Linked DNA regions of Homo sapiens: all the other regions are linked to region 3. Evidence: promoter capture Hi-C in 16 types of primary human blood cells and fetal thymus (Javierre and others, 2016). All regions are on one chromosome and are shown on one strand. Each heading gives the region's core, a stretch centred on a gene start or on the middle of the fragment in contact. The rest is flanking DNA. Distances are from core to core; before and after follow the strand shown.

The links. Contacts are between HindIII fragments. The CHiCAGO score rates a contact against its expected background, and 5 or more counts as called.
Region 1: a fragment that was not itself captured here is called in contact with the fragment with the promoter of ERP27 in region 3 in 6 of 17 cell types (total CD8 T cells, naive CD8 T cells, naive CD4 T cells and 3 more); the score reaches 8.8 in total CD8 T cells.
Region 2: a contact is called between a fragment that was not itself captured here and the fragment with the promoter of ERP27 in region 3, in 6 of 17 cell types (total CD8 T cells, naive CD8 T cells, naive CD4 T cells and 3 more). The highest score is 9.7, in total CD8 T cells.
Region 4: a fragment that was not itself captured here is called in contact with the fragment with the promoter of ERP27 in region 3 in 2 of 17 cell types (naive CD8 T cells and total CD8 T cells); the score reaches 6.3 in naive CD8 T cells.

The regions. Positions count from the first base shown.
Region 1 is chr12:14,780,105-14,782,804 of GRCh38, reverse strand. No RefSeq gene overlaps it. Among named protein-coding and RNA genes, the nearest start is that of H2AJ, 7.0 kb to the right of the region's middle. The HindIII fragment of the contact is 4,266 bases long and covers 1-2,700 here.
Region 2 is chr12:14,722,012-14,725,015 of GRCh38, reverse strand. The region is part of intron 5 of GUCY2C-AS1 (GUCY2C antisense RNA 1); the gene reads right to left. Among named protein-coding and RNA genes, the nearest start is that of GUCY2C, 27 kb to the right of the region's middle. RefSeq lists an enhancer at 866-1,055. The HindIII fragment of the contact is 2,358 bases long and covers 72-2,429 here.
Region 3 is chr12:14,937,229-14,940,039 of GRCh38, reverse strand. It overlaps ERP27 (endoplasmic reticulum protein 27), which reads left to right and starts at 1,503. Exons shown (of 7, transcript NM_152321.4): 1 at 1,503-1,625; 2 at 1,988-2,088. The coding sequence starts at 1,532. RefSeq lists an enhancer at 1,988-2,047. The HindIII fragment of the contact is 1,334 bases long and covers 398-1,731 here.
Region 4 is chr12:14,743,551-14,746,250 of GRCh38, reverse strand. The region is part of intron 2 of LOC105369669; the gene reads left to right. Among named protein-coding and RNA genes, the nearest start is that of H4C16, 26 kb to the left of the region's middle. The HindIII fragment of the contact is 1,207 bases long and covers 789-1,995 here.

The DNA.
Region 1 (2,700 bases), core at 186-2,685, 160 kb after region 3:
AATTTTAAGACAGATTGTTTTAAAACTGAAGGGTTAACCTTAAAAAGTATCTGTTTGAAATAACTGATGTTGTTCTGCTAGTTTTTTTATGGGAAAAAAACTAGCAGAACAACATCAGTTATTTCAATAGATGCTTTGTGGTTTGGGGAGCCTTGTATTCTTCATTTTTGTTTCCACACATAGACTGGAACAGGGATCAGCAAACTTTCTCTAAAGGGCCAGATGGTGAGTATTTTGGGCTTTGTGAGCTATACAGTTTCTGTCACTACTCTGGTTTCCTAACATGAAACCTGTACTGAAGGCAGGTAGCCTACCTTACTTGGTGTCCAAATGGAAATAACGCCCTTTCTTCCTGCAAGGTTTCTCTACAGGGCCCTCTACTGAGAAAACTTCTCAGAGCCGAATTTGAAGTTTTAATTTGGAGCTCAGAACCAATAAATTCATAACTGGCACACATGAATCCAAAGAAAACTCAGTGGTCTTTACTTCTACTATCACAACGTTTTAAAACAATTCTTAGCATAGGTTCCTTTGGCAAAAACAAATGGAATATTTCTCAAGCACCTTTTGGCAGGGGCTACTAGCTAGTACTGTTAGCTTATGTGTGCTAGCTAATATAACTGTGTGTGTCACTTTTCTTGAAAAATCTCAAAGGAACTTTAATTAACTGGCAAGCTCCACAACAGAAGTATGTTAAATAGAACAAAGCTAAGAACTAGGAAGTAAGCAAAAATGCTCCAAGAAACTGGCAGAGACAATGGTACTCACCAAAATATTTCATCTTCTCTTCTATATTTCCTGGGCTTCTTTGCAGTTAGATTAAGCCTGAGCTAGTTCTAGTGGATGGGCTGAAGCAAAAAAGAGGTTGTGAGTTCTCTGGGCCCTTGTACCCTGCTGGAAGAGACAAGAGAGAGTTTTGTATGGCTGGTGAGTGGTATAAAGAATGGCAGAAGAACAGGCTGGAATCTGTAAAGCTATAAATTTTATAGACTTCATTTAAGGACTACTCTTATGACAGTTTTGCAACACAGAGGTTTCATCTGGACTGTTTGCTCTTGCTAGAACACTCTGTATATCAAGGGTTTTGTGAGGAGATAACCTTAATCATGTTGTAAAACGTCCAGTGACACTCTTTCCCCAGCAATGGATGCATGCTCATATTATATTTGGACAACTAAGAGGTCTGCCCTCCTAACGCCCTCTTTATACTTTTCTACCCTGCTGTATGCCTCCAGAAGGCTAAACTGTAGATAGGGCATCAATGGGCTTTCTTTTGTCTTCCATTTGGGCTGGGCAATGGGAAACAGGATATTGGAAGAAGGGAGGAAAGTGAGGTCATGGTATTTACCTAATATATACGTTTAAATAAATATAAGTAATATGCATATACAGATATAAAAAATTTAAAGCATGATTTATTATGAGGAACACCTGGAATACCATGTTCAAGAAACAAGGACATTCTTACCCTATGTGAAGACATGGACAAAAAGATACATTCAAGATAGAAAGTTACTTGATAAACATGAAAATGAGGATTTTGTTAGCGGATATGGATGCTTAAAATATGTAAATGTGTAACTAAACTACTCGAAGACAGTAGCTCCCTCTTTTGCATGATGCTTGGACACTGCCAACATTTGCCTTGAGATGTATTTGTCTACTTCCACCGCTGAGCAACCACTCTTCTGGGTGTCACATTATTTTTTAAGCTAATGAGCAAGGGAAAAGCAGCCCATGACCTGGACTATCAGCTAGACTGTGCTGTTGCTAGGAGTTGGCCTGACACAGCTACACTGTGGTGATCTGTTGAACATAAACAATTCACAGAACACTAACACAAGACAAGGCTGTGAAAAATCAAATTAAAAAAAGACCATTCTGTAATCATGTCTGAACAGAAACAAAAACATGAACATTGTCCAAACAACAAAAATGAACAAAAACCCACTATCCTGACTAATATGCATTAGCATATTTACCAATGACAGCTTTAGTTTCACTTCATTCTGCACATTACAGCATTCCTTGCACCCTACTTCCTGACAGGATGCAATTCTGAGCAAAGCCCCCAAATCAACTAACACAAACCCAAATCCTGTAATACACCCTAACAGCCTCTTACTGAGACACCCCACATTTCCCCATGGAATGTGTTCCCCCTTGCTGCAAAGAGAAATAAATCCAACTTGTTCAACTACGAGTATGTTCCTGATGGTCTTGGGCTGGAGGACACAGACAAAAATACAGGTTTGGCCAAAGCTCTCATTGCTTGCACCAGGACTCTCAACGCAGTGCACACATCTGAGACCTCTTGTGACTTAATGTTTATGAGGTGCCACTTGCTCATGGCTGGGAAGTAAGTTCACATTGAACTGAGTTCCTATATTCTGTTGAAGCACTTCAGTGTTGACTTTATGTGTTTCCCTAGGAAGACGGTCTCTTGGAATTTTTTAAATTATCTAATCAGATTTATATTCTTTCATCAAACCATTTTTAGTCTTCTATTCCTTGCTTCTACTGCTTGCTTAATATTTAGTGTTGTCCACAGGGAAAGTTATAAACATAGTTCTGATAAATCTGTTTGCAAGTGACCTCCAAGTGCTAATGAGTTCAGAAGGTCTCCAGACCAGACATCTTAGGATAAATTTTGCCTGGGGTTACCATTTCCAAACCTGATTAAGATGTCTTCCTCAGTCT
Region 2 (3,004 bases), core at 1-2,500, 210 kb after region 3:
GCCCCACCCCTACCTCCCTTTGCTGACTCCTTTTTCACTCAGTCCACCTGCACCCAGGAGATTAAAAAGCTTTATTGCTCACACAAAGCCTGTTTGGTGGTCTCTTCACATGGACACACGTAACAGAAACAAATCAGCAAAATGGTGTAATAGGAAGTCACCCACTCATATCCTCTCAAAATTTGTCTGCATTCATCCACAGACAAGTCTCTGTGGTAGGAAGGTAGGAAGGTAGGAAGGTAGGAAGGTAGGAAGCTATGAATCCCTGGTGGAGCCCAAGAGCCAGAAAGACTGTTTTGAGAGTGCAGACCAACAGCCAGGTGGCAGACCTGCTGATCATGCCCCTGGGATTTAAATCTAGAAACAGCCTTGTTTCCCAAAAGGCTTAGGTACAGTCCTGTTTATCCTTGAACCAAAACAATTTGCCAAGGGGTCCAGGAGGAATCATGCACATTAGTACCTTGGCAGAAAGGCTCGTCTGCCCACTGACAACGGTCTTGGAAGTGAATTTGAAAGTTACCTTGTAACTGGGCTCCAGTCCTCCTCATCTGGGATCCCAGCTTATTACTGTTTGTGCAAGAACTCAAGAGAAAGACTCACCAATATCTCACAGTCTAGGGATTACACATGTCAGTCATGTAAGCCTACATGATGGGCACATCAGCCTCCATCCCAAAGCAGATCCTGAGGGGGCCCAATCAACTCCAGCTCCTCAGTCTGGGAACTGTCCCATTTGTGCAGGAAATGACTGTGGGATGTGCACCCACCTGACCTACTGGGGTGAACTCACTGGCCTTGATCTCACAGTGAATTCTGAGGGGAACTAGTCTCAACTTCAGCATCTCCTGAGAACTGCTGGGAGGCTTGCATATCTGGGCCACCAGCCCCCATCCCACAGCAGGTACAGAGGCGGCCCAGGCTCAGCTCCATCTTCTCCTGCTGCAGTTGGGGAACTGGCCTGGAAGCCTCGCCTGTCTGGGCCTATGGGACAGGCTTCCAGACTTGGGTCCCTGGCCAATATTCTCACTCAACTTGGGTACATGCCTTGGATCTTCACCAGGTCCATCTCTGCCAGAGTGCATGCCAACTATGGAACTTTTGTGAAACTGACAACAAATATGGGCTTAGGGCACCCTCTAGTGTCGGAACAGCTGCACTGGTCAGAGTCTTTCATAACAGTCGGCTTGGATAACTGAACAGGCCCACTGAAGAAGCATGGGAACATTTAAAGCCAGACTGTGAAGATTAAAATAAATACCTAATTTTTCGATGTGCAGACATCGAAGTGCAGCCACAATCACCAAGTACAATCGGAATTATGACCTCACTAAACAGGCAAAATAAGGGGCTAGTGACAAATCCCAAAGAGAAGATGTGTGACCTATTAGACAAGGAATTCAAAATAGCAGTGTAAGAAAAAAAATTGCATGGAACCACAAAAGACCCTGAATAGCCAAAGCAATCTTGAGCAAAGAAAAAGAAAGCTGGAGGCATCACAGTAGCTGACTTCAAAATATACTGCAAAACTATTGTAACCAAAACAGCATGGCACTGGAATAAAAAAAAAGAATCACAATGACCAGTGGAATAGAATAGAGAACATAGAAATAAATGCACATATTTACAGCCAACTAATTTTCAATAAAAGTGCCAAGAACACACAATGGGAAAAGGACAGTCTAATAAATGGTGCTTGAAAAACTGGATATATATGCAGAAGAATGAAACTAGATCCTTATCTCACCAACTGCAAAATCAGCTCAAAATAGATTAAAGACTTAAACGTAGCCAGGTGGTGGTGCACATCCATAGACCCAGTTACTCAGGAGGCTGAGGCAGGAGGATCACTTGAGCCCAAGAGTTCAAGGCCAGCCTGGGCAACACAGTGGACATAGTGAGTTCCTATCTCTTAAAAAAAAAAGACTTAAACAAAAGATCCAAAACTACAAGAATAAAATATAGGGTAAATGGGCTGGGTGCAGTGACTCATGCCTGTAATCCCAGCACTCTGGGAGGTCAAGGTGGGTGGATCACTTGAGGTCAGGAGTTTGAGACCAGCCTGGCCAACATGGTGAAACCCCACCTCTACTAAAAATACAAACATTAGTCAGGTGTGATGGTATGTGCTTGTAATCCCAGCTACTTGGGAGGCTGAGGCATGAGAATCACTTGAACCCAGGAGGCGGAGGTTGCAGTGAGCCAAGATCATGTCACTGCACTCCAGCATGGCAGACTCTGTCTCAAAACATCTATCTATCTATCTGTCTGTCTGTCTGTCTATCTATCTATCTATCTATCTATCTATCTATCTATCTCTGGGAAATGGTTCATGGCATTTGTCTGGAGCAAGAATTTTTTTGATAAGACCTCAAAAACACAGGCAACAAAAGCAAAAATAGGTGAATGCAATTACATCAAACTAAAAAGCTTCTGCACAGCAAAGGAAATAGACCAAAGAGAAAGCCTATAGAGTGGGAGAAAATACCTGCAAACTATGCATCTGACAAGGGGTTAATATCTGGATTATACAAAGAACTCAAACAGCCCTACAGCAACCCAAAAAATCCAAAACCCAACTTAAAAATGGGCAAGAAGCCTGAGTAGACATTTCTCCAAAGAAGACATACAGATGACCAAAGGGATATGGAAAATGCTCAGCATCACTAATCAGGGAAATGCAAATCAAAACCACAATGAGATATATTACCTCATCTCAGTTAAAATGGCTTTCATCAAAGAGATAAAAAAATAACAAATGCTGATGCTGATGAGGATGTGGAAAAAGGGGAACTTTAATACACTGTTGGTGGGAATGTAAATTAGTACCAGACATTAGGGAAAACAGTATGGAGGTTTTCTCAAAAAATTAAAAACAGAGCTACCATATGATCTAACAATACTACTACTGGGTATATATCAAAAAATTTAAAAATAGAATTAATATGTCAAGGAAGGGCTGGGCGCGGTGGCTCACACCTGTAATCCCAGCACTTTGGGAGGCCGA
Region 3 (2,811 bases), core at 254-2,753:
TTTCAAAAGTGTTTTGTATTTCTCCTTGTAGAGATATTTTACCTCCTTGGTTATCTGTATTCCTAGGCATTTCATTTTATTTGTAGCTATTGTAAATGAAATTGTGTTCTTGATTTTACTCTCAGCCTGGACATTATTGCTGTATAGAAATGCCACTAATTTTTGTACACTTATTTTTTTCCTGATACCTTACTGAAATCATTCATCAGTTCCAGTAGCCTTTTGGCAGAGTCTTCAGAGCTTTCTAGGCATACAATCATATTGTCAACAAGGAGAAATAGTTTGACTTTTTCTTTTCCTGTTTAGATGCCTTTTATGTCTTCCTCTTGCCTAATTGCCCTGGCTAGGGCTTCCTAATTTCTTTTGTAATATTTTCACATGAAAATTCTCCTAAGCTTAAAACTACATATCCCAATGCCTGTGGAAATCTCATCTTGGACTTCCTCAGACACTTGTGAGCAAAATCAAACTTCATCTCATTCTTCTGCTTAAGACTTTTCAGTGGTTCCCATCACCTACAGAATAAAATTGATGCTCCCGCGCTTAGTGTATCATATAAAGCCTGCTGTGAGCTGGTCCCAACATGCCTTTCTGTCCACATGTATCACTTCCTTCCTTTTCATCATTCTCAATTACTAGTAATTCTGTCACACATTATATTTGCATATCTGTGCTTTGGTTCTTTTTTTTTTTTTTTTTTTTTTTTGAGACGGAGTCTCGCTCTGTCGCCCAGGCTGGAGTGCAGTGGTGCTATTTCGGCTCACTGCAAGCTCTGCCTCCCGGGTTCAGGCCATCCTCCTGCCTCAGCCTCCCGAGTAGCTGGGACTACAGGCGCCCGCCACCACACCTGGCTAATTTTTTGTATTTTTAGTAGAGATGGGGTTTCACCATGTTAGCCAGGATGGTCTCAATCTCCTGACCTCGTGATCCACCTGCCTCAGCCTCCCAAAGTTCTGGGATTACAGGTATGAGCCACCACGCCCGGCCTGTGCTTTAGTTCTTTACATGAAACTCCCTTTCTACCTTGTGTTGCCTGGCAAAATCTTACTTACCCAGAACTCTGCTCCGGCATCCTCCGCAGGAAGAACACTTTCATTGAACCCTAGCATTGTCCCTAATACCCTTAATATGTATTGTCATAGCACCCTATGAATTTTTCTATATCACTTTCCATCTTATATTTAAATAATCTTTTTACTTGCCCATCTCTCCCACTGATAATCTAAGCTGGCAGAGGCTGGATCAGATCATAATTATCTTTCTATTCTTAGCGCTAGGATCAATGCCTGGCATAGCATATTTACATTTTTTATTTAAATAAACTGACCTGACTTTCTTCTGGTTGGATATGTTCTGAGTCCCTATTACTAACCTTGGTCTTTTATCTCAGAAGTTGAAGGCTCCCCTGGAGCCAGCTGCAAAGTTCCCAAAGCCCTAACAACCCCACAGCCAATCAGCTACAGAGTAGGCTGCCCTGAGTCGGCCTCCCCAACACAAAGTCCAGGGTTGGAGCAGGAGCAGGAGAGGGACAATGGAAGCTGCCCCGTCCAGGTTCATGTTCCTCTTATTTCTCCTCACGTGTGAGCTGGCTGCAGAAGTTGCTGCAGAAGTTGAGAAATCCTCAGGTAAAAGAAAAATGTAGTTGGGTGGCTATAGTGTGAAAGTGTTATTAGGAGAAGGAAAGGGAGCATGGTGGTTCTCTGGGTACTTTTCCTCCACACCTAGAAAGCTTTCCAGGAAATCCTGGATAAGTGCATTTTGCCTGGTAGAGAGTAGGGAAGTCTGGCAGTATCCTTCAGAGACAGACCATCAGTAGGGTCACCTTCCATATGTTAGTAAAAATATTATGCCTTGGAATGCCAACAGTACTCCTATAAATTGTGCTCTTCTTGCCCTTAGTATAGAGATAAAAGGTATAGATGCCCTCATTATTTAGAGCTGCTTCTTCTTGCCTCAGTACCCTGACATCTTCTGCTTCTCTCTCTAGATGGTCCTGGTGCTGCCCAGGAACCCACGTGGCTCACAGATGTCCCAGCTGCCATGGAATTCATTGCTGCCACTGAGGTGGCTGTCATAGGCTTCTTCCAGGTTAGTTCCCTACTTGCAATTCCCCCAAGAGCCAGAAATGTTCTACCTTAAGGGAACCACAGCAGCCACCTGCTGCTGGCAGATGGCACTGCATTAGAAGTGGGGGTAAAGGGAGACAGCCACCCAGTTTGATTTCATCTTGTCCATTGGGACCTCTTATTTTCAAGACATTCCCAGTCTCTAAATTATATCTTTCTCATACTTACTTCAAGAGTTCTGAGCCTGTGGGCTGCATCTCCTCATCTATGGATGCTTTGAAGCTCAAGTCAGTATCTGCAGAAAGAATGCCTTCATGGAACCCCACCATTGTCCTAAACACATTTGGTCTATACTCTCATAGCACCCTATGAATAGGCAGGGGCCAGAGTGAACCCAATTTATATCATCCAGCAACACTGTTTACAGGATGCCAAACATCCTGGACATTAGTCAGTGCACAGCCTTTTAAAGCCTTTCCCCCAAATATGGTAGACTCTCCTTCTTTCTCTTTGCCTTGTCTGAAATGTTGGAAAATGATGGCATTTTGTATATTCAAGGTGTTAACCTCCATCTTCCAGATTAGCTTCTTGACTAAGAAAGGCAGCCATAAATGAGACTGCCTCATTCCAGCATTTTCATCTTTCTCTGGTGGTAGCATCTGGAAATCCTCACAGCTGATCAAGCCCCTACTCTCTCATAGCAGACCTTCTTGTCTGTTTCCATTTCTCAGTTACAACTCCTGAT
Region 4 (2,700 bases), core at 143-2,642, 190 kb after region 3:
GAGAAATATCATCGCTGAATTCTTTTTCTCAGCAAGGAACATCCCTGAGAAAGAGAATGCACCCCTGAGGGTCGGCCTCTAAAATGGCCCCCTTGGGTGTGGCCGTCTTCTATGGTCAAAACTGTAGGGATGAAATAAGCCCCAGTCTCCCATAGCGCTCCCAGGCTTATTAGGATGAGGAAATTCCCACCTAATAAATTTTGGTCAGACTGGTTGCTCTCAAACCCTATCTCCTGATAAGATGATATCAATGACAATGGTACCCGAAACTTCATTAGCAATTTTAATTTCGCCCCAGTCCTGTGGTCCTGTGATCTCGCCCTGCCTCCATTTGCCTTGTGAGATTCTATTACCTTGTGAAGCACATGATCTCTGTGACCCACACCCTATTCGTACACTCCCTCCCCTTTTGAAAATCACTAATAAAAACTTGCTGGTTTCATGGCTCGGGGGGCATCACGGAACCTACCGATATGTGATGTCTCCCCCAGACACCCAGCTTTAAAATTTCTCTCTTTTGTACTCTGTCCCTTTATTTCTCAACCTGGCTGACGCTTGGGGAAAACAGAAAAGAACCTACGTGACTACAGGGGGCAGGTTCCCCGATACTTCATTATTCTTCTTACACTTTTAATTTTTTGGAGTACTTTTTCTGTATATTTTCTGTATATTTTATATATAGTTTTTTTCTGTGTATTTTATAATGGAGGCTTCCCTCTAATGCCAGATAATATTTAAGCTTCCCATTCATATTTAATAGTGCGGCACTGGAAAGCTGATTGCAAGCTTTGTACTTAAGTTCTACCTGTTGACCAATGACTTTCTCTGTAGGGTAACAGGTAGGGACTTATTTTTAAGTGAATCATTAGCTGCCAGTATCCTTAGGTTTTTTTTTTTTTTTTTTTGCTATGTCAGTTTTCCATGAGAATCCTCTGCCTGTACAATAATAAGTCTACATGTAAACAAACCCAAAGTTGTGGACTGGAGCTTGGGGTCTCATTTTTCAGTGTGTAGGTTTCTAGTCCCTACCCCTTTCAGTTCAGCCTCCTCACCTTTCTGCTGTCCTGAGTGTGAAGGATAGCAGATGTCTATCCTTCACATTGAATCCTCTGATTCAGTGTCTCCAGAGAATAAACCTCCCATCTCTGTTGAGGTAAGGGTGGGCCGCACAGGCTCTAACTGATTCTCAAACCAACTTTAAACCAGACCTTCTGTTTTCAGCCCTATCTGCACAACTACCTTCAGAGGCATCTTGCATTTTTAATTTCTGACACTTTTGGAGTTCCTCAATGCAAGTGGAAGTTGCTTTTTTTGGCTCTCCCCTGAACTTGTAGAGTACATAGTTTTCATCTTTATTCAGTCTTCTAAGTGAATTTTCTCATGTCCATATTCTCTCTAATTTTTCCCAATTTTCTTGCCATCTCTGGTCAGCTGTTATCTTCTCTTTTTTTTCTTTTACAGTTTGTATTTTTTTAATCTATGCATTATCATTTTAGAGAAATAAGGAGAAGCAAAGATAAGCATATACATTTAATCCACTGCACTTAACTAGGAGTTTGTATTTAATAATCCACTTTAATCAGATGTCTACCTAACATTTTATTGAATCTTTTCTGCCTCCTTGCTTTTCAGGTTTTTTTTTTTTCTATTCTTGTATCTACCATGTAGGCTTGCCTATTATCTTCATTTAGCATCCTCAGGCAAAGCTATTTTTTATCATTGCCCTTCCATTGCACTGTGTACAATGCTGCTCTTGCTGCCTTGAGTACATATTGATGTAGTACAAATATGTGGATGGATGGCTGTCTTCTGTTTCTCTGGGTGGGGAATTTTTCTACACCCAGGGTCCAACATGGGGCCCGCTACTGACTCATGTTCCTTAAACTTTATTGAATGAAAAAAAAATGCCTCAGAAAATTTAATGGGAAACTCAATGCAAAGACCTGAATGTCCATGGGCCAGTCAAGCTATATTCAGTATCAGGATTTAGAAGCTTCAGAGATCATCTATTTAAACTACTTTGTTTTACAAATGAGAAAACTAAAGCCTAAATGAGGAAAATAAAACTTATTATATGGTATATAGCAGGGACTTTAATTCACATTTTCTAAGATCCTCACCCACAGATATTTCTTCCACAATCTATTTCTTTAAGCAATGACATTTTGATAACCAGAAGTCAGCATATTAATGGCTCTATTGTAAACAATACATTTTGTTTTTGTTACTGAATCTAATTACGTTTGTGAAACATGATACAGATAGCTGTGTACAAAACAAACTGAGGTTAGGAAACTTCAGCAAACCAGATAAAAGGCTGATGTTGGAAACCATGTGAAATGATAAAGATCTGAACTAAGATGGCATATGGAGAAAAATATTGATGGGATATATCAAAAAGCAGAAGAGAGAGATGCATTAAATAATAGGCAGGATAAGGAGGATGTTTGTACCATTTTCAACAATAGGGTGAGTGACACAACAGGAGAACCGTCATCTCAGACAACCACTGCCATTTTAAGTTCCAGCTCCCTTTCTAGCCTCATGCATTTCAAGGAAATCACTTCCCTTCTAATAAGGAGCAGCCAGAAAGAGCAGACAGTAAAACAAAGATAAGACAGCTCCGGCACAGGAGGAAGTGGGGGGAAAGTCTCTGCCAAACTTCACCCTCATACAATGGGCCCCGGTAAAACAGTGGGC